Regions from separate parts of the Homo sapiens genome. Here all the other regions are linked to region 3. The links are contacts of gene promoters, found by promoter capture Hi-C in blood cells and fetal thymus (Javierre and others, 2016). All regions are on one chromosome and are shown on one strand. The core of a region is centred on a gene start or on the middle of the fragment in contact, and the rest is flanking DNA. Distances in the headings are between cores, read along the strand shown. Region 1 overlaps RASGRF2 (Ras protein specific guanine nucleotide releasing factor 2). Region 2 overlaps RASGRF2 (Ras protein specific guanine nucleotide releasing factor 2). Region 3 holds the start of RASGRF2 (Ras protein specific guanine nucleotide releasing factor 2).

Region 1 (3,364 bases), core at 602-3,101, 120 kb after region 3:
TTCACTAATGAAGTGAAATAGTCATGGAGGTATTTGAATCCCTTGGAGGGTCCGGTTGTATCTGCTTCTCTCTGTATTAGCAGTGGTACTTCTGCATGTTTGCCTTGCTCCCTTGTAAGGGTGGACGCCTCAGGATGAGGCTAGGGTTCTCACTTTTTTTTTTTTTTTTTGCTGGAGGCCAACAGTGGAAGAGGTGACCCTAGTTTATACTGCCAAGAGACCTCTGTCCAGACTTTCTTGAGCCCAGATATGGAGGCAGAAGTTAGTGTAGGGGAAGAGAGAGGAGGAGAGGCAATTGGAAGCCTTTAGCTTGTATGTGTAGAAGAGAGAAGGTGATTGTCTTCCTCCTTCTCGGCCCTTTTTTGAGTTAGTCAGTTGCTGCTGTTATCAAGCTATGTTGAACTATGGAAACATGGAGAAATTGTAGAATTTGGATGATGCAGTAAAATTATCCCCAGTTGAACTATCAGAACAGTAAGTCCAAGTATTGCCAAGAAATTTGTTATGGAAAATAATGTTGTCATTAACATAATTTTTATTTATTAAAGACAGTGGCTTGGCTGGTACTGTTTAAATTGGCTTCAGCTGCTCATGTATTTATTTGGATATGTATGTGTCGAAAGTCCATTGGTAAGCCAATCGTGAAATCTGCTCCTGACAAGAACAGCAGTGTTAGATGTTCTCCAGAAAGTAGCTACTTGCTATTCTATCCACTTATTTACTGTAATTGGAGAGCAAGCTAATTAATGTCTATAAAGTGACAAGTATTTGCTCCATAATTGAAAGCAGAATTATGATTCATTTAGACAGTTCCTATGATTCTTGGTTTTGGGGGAAGAGATTTATAATCAGCTCTTGAAGATACAGATGAGCCCTTTGGAGAGCTGACCACTTCTCTGCAGAACTTCGTTTGCCTGCTTTTTGGCAGTTTCAGTGCCTGTTTGTTCCTTCACCATAAGGCAGAAAGGGCCAGAGACTGAATTCAAATCCATCTACCTGAATCTTAGCCAGCGAGCACTTTAAAAGAAATTTAAGTAATGAGGAAGGATCATGAGAGTATTGACCAAACTCAGTTTTGTGGATTTTCAGTGCATTATAAGTACTCAAGCTTTCCTACACCTGTCCTGTTTGCTATGAAAAATTTTGTACATTAGCTATTGATTGCCTTGATTTTCTTGTGGAATTACTAATTAGAGGCAAACTTTTATCAGTCATGCAATTATGCCAGCGAAAAAGATATTTGAAAGCACACTTATCCCAGGAGACTTCATCAAGTGGGACAACCCTAAGGGCTGTATTAGTGAGAAGTTCATGGGAGAAGGAGCAGAAAATCTCCTCCATATATCCTAAAAAGGGAGGATTCTCCTGTTTCCCACCCTTCCACGATGAAGGGGGCCTATTTGTGCTTCCTGAAGCCTTGATTTGATGACATTCCTTAGGGTGTGATCCCAGAGCTGAAGTTCAATGTCTGTGCTAATGGTGGCTGTGTCTATGCATAGTGTGTAAATGGACACACTCAATAAACATTGGTAAGCAGCCCAATGAAGGCCACCACTTGCACAAGAGCCAATGCAGATCCCTAGGTAGGGCCACTGACCCTTCAGGACAGAATGGAAGAAACTGCACACAGGGTCCTGGAAAGCTGTTGTAGTTTCTTCATTCTCAAAGGTACTTTCAAGTGCTGAGTGAGACCTCAGTCCCCGCAGACGAGAGCTCCCAGGGTGAGTTCTGAGAAAAGACAGTTAGTGCACTGGTCAGAGCTGGGATTATAGTTGACGCTCCCATTTACTGTGAGGCCACCAATGGGGCAAGTTTGGGCAAGTTACCAAACTTCTTCCCACTTTAGTTCTCTATCTGTAAAAGCCTAAAACTTCTTCCCATTTTAGTTCTCTATCTATAAAATGGAGACATAATCCTTATGATGTTAGAGGACTGGACACATTGGCAAAGCCTGGAGCACCCAGTCTAACCCCCGAGTGGGTAATGTTGTGGTAGATGTTCATGCATGTTATTGTTAAAATTAAGCCCACAATAAATAAGTTGTGTCACTAGAAATTAGGTTGAATCTCTATCATGGTTTATTAAGATCTTCCTCTGGTTGGTGGAGTTTCTGTCTTTGACAGAATTCAGATAGTCTGTTAATAAACAAAAGTACAAATAAATAACCTAAACAATACTTTTTACTGCAAGGAGGTGAATTGAGATAAAGTAGAAACAGAAAGTAATAAAGGTGAACATGTCTTCTCCCAAGTTTTAATTCTTAGGGAGAATAGTGCAGTGGGATTGTTGATTTAAAAACATTGCAAATGGACTAATATATCTAAAATACAGACTCAAGTGACTTGATGATAGCTGTATCTGTTTCCCTCTGAACCAGTTTTCAAAAATTATGATTCAAAAGTGTATGATTATGTAAAAAAAAATTAAAGAAACAACCATCTCTTTGTACCATAACACTTCAATAATTTCCACCTTTTCATGTGTTCTTGGTGAAGTCTTTTTTTTGGTGTGCATGAAGTGTGAAGTGTAGTTCATTTTATTTGTATTTCTTTTTTAAAAAATGTGTAAAACAGTAAAAAGTGGGAGAGTAGAGACAAGCTTCTCGAAGCAATGATGGCCCTGCGGAGCATGTGCCCTGTCACCCATCCTGATGTCTTGCTCATACTGGCCTCTGTTTGCATCTAGATCCCCAGATATATCATCACACTCCATGAGCTCCTTGCTCACACACCCCATGAGCATGTGGAAAGGAAAAGCCTGGAGTTTGCCAAATCAAAGCTAGAGGAACTATCCAGGTATGCCAAGAACTTATAACAAAGGCTTGGGAGAGGAAAGCAGCAAGTTAGTCTCTTGTGGAAACCTCCTGTATATGTTCTAAGGAACAAGAAGCAAAACAAATCCAGCTTCTCAGATTCACCTGAAAGTTAAATAGTAGCTTGTGAGGTGATATTGAATCATCATTCACATTCATTTGAACCAAGAAAAATACGTATCTTGGAAAATGTTCTTATAGCATGTGAATTTATGTAATTCAGATTAGGTGTATTTTGGTTTAAGTTTGGAAATGTTCATGTTTCTTTCAGCATTAAAAAAAAAATGATAGCCAGGTGTGGTGGTGTGCACCTGTAGTCCCAGCTACTTGGGAAGCTGAGACGAGGGTGCAAGGGGTGATGATTATTTGACCCCAGGAATTTGAGACCAGCCTGGGCAACATAGCGAGACCCCATCTCAACAAAAAAGACTCTCAGTTGCATTTTGTATTCATATTTGGTAAGAAGCTAGAGAATGTACAGTTTGCATTTCTCAGTGACTTTTCATTGTTACAAGCACTTATTTATGTCTGTGTTACTTTAGCTTATATGGG
Region 2 (3,263 bases), core at 334-2,833, 100 kb after region 3:
TCCCCTTGAGGAAACTCACCACTTTGTCATTCCCTAGACAGGCTAGGCCCACTCCCACTGCAGGGCTTTTGCACATACTGTTCCCTGGGCCTGGATGCTGTTCCATCAGCTAGCCACGCATGTCCCTGCTTCAAGTCGTTTCTCCAGTACCATTTCTCCATGAAAGCAGCCCTCACCGCTTGGTTAAAATTGTAACCTCTGCCCCCCTACTTCCTGTTCTCCTCTTACCATTTTTCCTCTACAGTACTCATCACCAGGTGACATATGATAGATTTGTCTTATTAATGTTGTCTTTCTCTCTCTACTACTGTATAAGCTTCATAAAGACACAGATTTTTTTCCTACTGTGTTTACTCCTGTGCCCAGTATTTTGAACAGTTCCCAAATATACAACACTCAGTAAATATTTATTGACTCAAAGAATCAATTTGGACTCGCAGGAACCCAGGAAGAAGGAAATCATGTTACTTATAATCCCAATGCATGAAGTAAATAACTACCATTAGGATTTTATGTATTTTCTCTTTTCTCCCCACTTAATATTACAGAAATATTGGAAAGTATGGAAAAGTACAAAAGAAGTAACTCAAGAAGAAATTAAAAATCACCCATAATTGCTCCAGCCAAAGAAAGCTCCCTTTAAGTTTTGATGTATGTCTCTCATTAGAGTACCTTTCTCTCTGTCTCTCTCTTCCCTTCTCCTCTTCTGCTTATGTCTGTGTATACACTTAATTTTCTCCCTCTGTGTATGAACATATATACATGTACATGTACATATAATGTTTATCTCAATTTCTTGTTTTTTTTTCTGTTTATTTATCAATAAATCTTGGGTATGTGCCATTATGTTATGACTATTTTCAAAAAACATATTTTAAATGGCTTGTTATCATTCCATTATGAAGATATATTATTACTTATTTAACCAATCCCATATTATAAATGTGTATATTTAGATTGTCTCCATTTTCTTATATTTGTTTTTAATGAATGAACATTTTGTTTCTTTTGTATCTCGTTGTGCAAGTGTCAGATTATTTTTCTTGAGTGATATTATTAGAAGTGAAATTATGAAGGCAAAGGATATAACCATTTTGACCTGTTTTGATACATATTGTGATATTGTCTTCTACAATGACTCACTTCAGTGGTACTATATGACAATATCTATTTACTATATCTTTGTTAGCCCTGAGTACTATTTTTCTAAAAATCTTAACCAGTTTTGGTAAATAATTTGTAATTCTTTGATTAAGAAGGACTTTTTTTTTTTTTTGAGACAGGATCTCTCCCTGTTTCCCATGCTGGAGTGTGGTGGTGCAATCATAGCTCACTGCAGCTTCAAAATCCTGGGCTCAAGTGATCCTCCTGCCTCAGCCTCCTTGAGTAGCTGGGACTATAGGTGTATGCTACCACACCCAGCTAATTTATTTCCTTCCTTCTTTCCTTCCTTTCTGAGATAGGGTCTCATTTTGTCACCCAACCTGGAGTGCAGTGGCATGAATACCATCATTGCAGCCTTGATCTCCCGGGCTCAAGTTACCCTCCCGCCTTGGCCCCCCAAGTAGCTGGGGCTACAGGTGCATGCCACCACACCCAGCTTATTTTTGTATTTATTTTGTAGAGATGGGGTTTCACCATGTTGCCCAGGCTGGTCTCAAACTCCTGAGCTAAAGTGATCTGCCTGCCTCAGCCTCCCAAAGTGCTAGGATTACAGACATGAGCCACCACACCTGATCCCAGCTGACAAAAAAAAAAAAAAAAAAAAAAAAAAACTGTAGAGATGAGATCTTACTATGTTGCTCAGGCTGGTCACTCCTGGCCTCAAGCTATCCTCTCACCTCAGCTTCCCAAAGTGTTGGGATTGTAAGCATAGGCCACTGTGCCCAGCAAGAAGGACCCTTTTTCATGCATTTATTAGTCATTTGTTTATTACATTGTGTGAAGCCCTTTTGTGTATTTCTTGACTTACTAATTTTAGCCAGTGTGATTGATTCTCTGGCATAAAAATGAAAAATTTAACACCCTTACAATACCTCTTATGTCCCTGTCTTTTGCCCGCTCTGTTTTTGTTACTTACATATTTTTAGATCTTAAATTGGTTGACTTCATAACTTAAAATAATATAATTAAACCTCTATTGATTTATCAACTTTAGACAGTATGTATTGTCTCTGCTAGGAAAAATAAGTATAATAAGTTAAGACATTTAATGTGTTTTCATTGTTTTTTCTTTTCTAATCCTGAGGTTTTCTTTCATTATTATTTATTCTCACTTTATAAACTTTTAGACATATTCTGTTCTCTAAATTGTTCCTCTGTGTTTTGTCATAGGCTGATTCTGAAAATTAAAAACCAACAAGGAACATTTCCATAGTGGTTATAACAAATATTGTGTCCCAAAGTATCAAGGTTGGTGTTTGGTCCCACAGAGAATGAAATGTACCGTGTCATTGAATATTTGCTCCTTGAAGAAGAACCTTGTGTGTGTCAACTTCTAGTTTCTTTCTACCTTCCTTTACTTCATCTGGCTTGTTTTCTTGCATTCAATGTCATTTTATTGTCTTTGATTTCTGTTTTGTTTGGTTGGAAAACCTCCTCATAATGTTTTCCTGCAGTAAGTGTGTGGGGATAGTAAGTTTTTCCTGTCTTGTCCTGGTACTTGGTCAGTGATTGGTTGTCTGTGTATTGTTTATTGTTTTAGAAATTGTTATGCAGGCTCAAAATATTTTCTCCACAATTCTTTGTTGCCACCTAGAATTCCAAGTTAATGATGAAAAGTATGACAGAAAAAAAAAAACTATGACAGCATGATTCTCACTTCCTTTTGCTACCTATTGTTTCTCTTTGGAAGCTTCTATAATTTTTCTCTATCCTTAGAATTCTGATATTTTACCAAGATGTATCAGAGTATGAAATGTTTTCATTTATCTTGTCTGGTATTTGGATTATTCTATTTGAACTGTGCTATGCTCAGTTCAGGGAAAGTTTCTTCCATTTCTGTTTTTTCTTTTTTAGATGGAGTCTCTCTCTGTTGCCCAGGCTGGAGTGCAGTGGCGTGATCTCGGCTCACTGCAACCTCTGCCTCCCGGGTTCAAATGATTCTCCTGCCTCAGCCTCCCAAGTAGCTGTGACTATAGATGCCCGCCACCACACCTGGCTAATTTTTTGTATTTTAGTAAAGACAGAGTTTCACCATGTTGGCCAGGCTAGTTTCAAACTCAGGTGATCTGCCTGCCTCAGTATCCCAAAGTGCTAGGATT
Region 3 (3,123 bases), core at 144-2,643:
CTGGGGAAAATAAAAAATGTGTATAGCAGAATCAAATATAGGCCCTCCCCGGGGGTTTCACTGGCTTTCTCTCACAGCTGCTGGCTACATTATTTCTTTTCCACTTACATTTTTACAGCATGGGGTTGGGGCGGGGGGGTGGCTCTTGGTTTTCTGGTTGTACCTGTCAGATTTGTTAATCAAATGAATCCAGTCCTACAAACGATGAGCCTGTGACAGCTGGCCTTTGGGGTTGGATTCTGCCCTGGGCAGCAAAGTGTCCCTTATTTGGGTATTTTTTTCCAGGTTGAAAACTCGGCACTTAAAATTTAGCATCTTACCACTGTGAAATAACAGGCATTCCGAAAGAACTTCGGCATCTGATGCCTTTCCGGGAACACTTGGGCCACTCTCCTTAACCTTTACCGGCAGTTTTAAATACTACAATGCAGGTACAAGCAGAAAAGCCAAGGATGCGGGCTATGCAAAGCCACTCTGTGACTCTACCTACTGCCATGGGAACGTACTTATGGATGTGGCATGTGAGTGTGTGTGTATGTGTGAGTGGGTTTGTGAAAGTGTGTGGATTCGTGCGAATACGTGTGTGAGTGCTTTGTGTGTATTTTTGGATGAATTTGTGAATGTACATGTGTGTTCATCTGTGTGTGTGTTTGATTATCTGCTTATGAGTCTGTATGATTGTGAACGTGTGAGTATATGTGTGCTGTTTGTGTGACTGTATGAGTGTAATGTGTGTATGAATGTATGTTTGAATGTGGGTTTGAGTGAATGTGTGGGTTGTGTGTGAATGTGTGTGTAAGTGAGCATATCACTGCGTGCATGTGTGTAGCTCCTTAAGTGTGTATCTGAATGTGGGTTTTATTTTTGTGCGCGGGAACGCACATTGTGGGTGTATTTGTCTATATGCATTTGTGCGTTGTGACTGTGTGTTGAGTGTGAGCGTTGTGAGAATGTGTATTTGTGTGTCATGAGTGTGTGCGCGTGTGTTTTTGTGCATATGTGCGCGCATTGTGTTTGTGTGCATTTGTGAGTGTATTTTTGTGCGTCTGAGTGTGTGCATTGTGGATCTGGGTGAATGTACTGGTCTGCGTGTGTGTGGGTGTGCGTGTGTGTGTGCGCGCGTTGTGCGCGAGTGTGCGAGCGCGTGTGAGCGGGTGTGTGGTGCGGCCGGGCGCCTCCACCTCCCTGATCCGCCCCATCCCGGCGGGCGCCCGAGCAGAGGCAGCGGCCCGGGCCGGGGCGGGCGAGGGAGGGACGCGAGCCGGGGCAAGCGGGCTGCGCCACCGCCGGCGCCGCGCCGACTTTGCCCTTTAAATCGGTCTCCAAGCCGATTACAGCTGAGCTCCCACGTGACGTTTTACCTTCTGTCTCCCGGAGCGCGTTGCCCGAGGACAGTCCTTCCCCGGCTGCCGCCCCAGCCCGCCGCGGGGGCTCGGCTCCCGCAACTTTGGGCGAAGCGGCGGCCGGCTCGGGCGCCCTCGCGGGGCCGCGCTCCACGCGGGCGTTGGGGGCTTGGGGGGCTCCGGGGGCTCGGCCGGGAGGGTGGTGGTTAGGGCGGAGAGCGTGCCTCGGCCCCAGCCCGCGCCCCTGCCACCGCGCGCCGCGGCCTCCCGAAAGCGGGCGGGGTGCCCTGCGCGCGGCGTGGGGAAAGGGGGCGCCCTTCGCCGGCCGGGACCTGAGCGGTCGCGCCCTCGAGGGAGCCAGCTGGGCCATGGCCGCGAGGCAGGGGTGAGACCGGCGGCCACCCGTGAGCCCTCCGCACCCGCACCATGCAGAAGAGCGTGCGCTACAACGAGGGGCACGCCCTGTACCTGGCCTTTCTGGCGCGCAAGGAGGGCACCAAGCGCGGCTTCCTGAGTAAGAAGACGGCCGAGGCGAGCCGCTGGCACGAGAAGTGGTTCGCCCTCTACCAGAATGTGCTCTTCTACTTCGAGGGCGAGCAGAGCTGCCGCCCGGCGGGCATGTACCTCCTGGAGGGCTGCAGCTGCGAACGAACGCCCGCGCCACCCAGGGCCGGCGCCGGGCAGGGAGGCGTCCGAGACGCGCTGGACAAGCAGGTACCGCGCGCCTTCTCTCCGCGGTCTCCCAGCCTTGATCGCCGCACTCCCTTGCCGTCCTAATCCGGGGATCAGGGGTCGGGGGTCGTGAAAGAGTGCGGGGACTATGCTCCGAAATCCCCCCGCGTCACCAGTGGCGGGACATCTCCACGCTCCTTCCGATCTTCATCCAGGGATTCTCCCATCTCCATACCCCTCCACCCCACTGCCAAGTGATCAGTCAGAATAGTGGCCCGACTTGCTTTCATTACCCTGGTAGAGGTCGAGTCGTTTCAGCTTCTCTGCCAACCATCTATTGCTTCTCTAGACCTGGCTCGCCAGATTTTTGTCTGGTGACATGTATTGACACCTGTTGGGTGTAGATTGGCAAGACGGAACTAACTTATTTGGAAAAGTTTGATTTCTGCCATACCCGGCTGGCGCGTGTAGATTTCTTTGCCTGCAGATGTTTGACCACTGGTTGGGCTGGGAACAAGCGGGGCTCCCAAGCCGGACAGACACTTTCTGTTGGTCATTTTCAATCAGTCTTTGTGATTTCGGTCAGTTGGCCTTGCTAACATTTGACCTGCTGGGTGTAATTATGAAGGTAAATGTGTATTCATATTCCTCAGGATTAATATTTGGTAGCCACATTCTTGCTATGTTTAAAAATGTGGGCATTTTTAAAGAACGCTTCTGTACTTTTAAATGAATGCTTTGAAAATGAATGCGACCTTTTAATTCTGGGTCATAATTTTATTAGTTTTGCTGTGTGCTCATGGTCGCGGGGTGGGGGAGAAAAACCCTTTAAGTCTTAGTGATCCCAGCCCCTCATTCCTGCAAACACAAAGTTTGTATGTTTCCAATCACCGTTTGGTTATTAAAGTTAAAGCAGACTAATTTTATGCCCCTAATGTTCTCATTTAGCTTCTCAATCCCCACCTTGATATGAAAAAGGCTGATTGTTTTTGCTGTTGCGTAAAAATATTCGCAGCTGAATTTTCCATGTGAGTTCAGATCAGACAGCATCTACCGCACACCACAGAGGCTGTGGGAGGTGCTAGCAATGGAGTGATCCGTAAGATGC

The links. Contacts are between HindIII fragments. The CHiCAGO score rates a contact against its expected background, and 5 or more counts as called.
Region 1: a fragment that was not itself captured here is called in contact with the fragment with the promoter of RASGRF2 in region 3 in 6 of 17 cell types (activated CD4 T cells, non-activated CD4 T cells, total CD4 T cells and 3 more); the score reaches 10.2 in activated CD4 T cells.
Region 2: a fragment that was not itself captured here is called in contact with the fragment with the promoter of RASGRF2 in region 3 in 3 of 17 cell types (activated CD4 T cells, non-activated CD4 T cells and naive CD4 T cells); the score reaches 7.5 in activated CD4 T cells.

Annotation. Positions count from the first base shown.
Region 1 is chr5:81,083,117-81,086,480 of GRCh38, forward strand. RASGRF2 (Ras protein specific guanine nucleotide releasing factor 2) reads left to right here. Exons shown (of 27, transcript NM_006909.3): 8 at 2,686-2,795. Among named protein-coding and RNA genes, the nearest start is that of RASGRF2-AS1, 120 kb to the left of the region's middle. The HindIII fragment of the contact is 1,490 bases long and covers 1,107-2,596 here.
Region 2 is chr5:81,060,250-81,063,512 of GRCh38, forward strand. All of the region lies in intron 2 of RASGRF2 (Ras protein specific guanine nucleotide releasing factor 2), which reads left to right. Among named protein-coding and RNA genes, the nearest start is that of RASGRF2-AS1, 100 kb to the left of the region's middle. The HindIII fragment of the contact is 2,538 bases long and covers 315-2,852 here.
Region 3 is chr5:80,958,970-80,962,092 of GRCh38, forward strand. It overlaps RASGRF2 (Ras protein specific guanine nucleotide releasing factor 2), which reads left to right and starts at 1,394. Exons shown (of 27, transcript NM_006909.3): 1 at 1,394-2,057. The coding sequence starts at 1,770. RASGRF2-AS1 (RASGRF2 antisense RNA 1) reads right to left here and starts at 1,938. Exons shown (of 4, transcript NR_105015.1): 1 at 1,812-1,938. RefSeq lists an enhancer at 1,497-2,218. The HindIII fragment of the contact is 16,452 bases long and covers 1-3,123 here.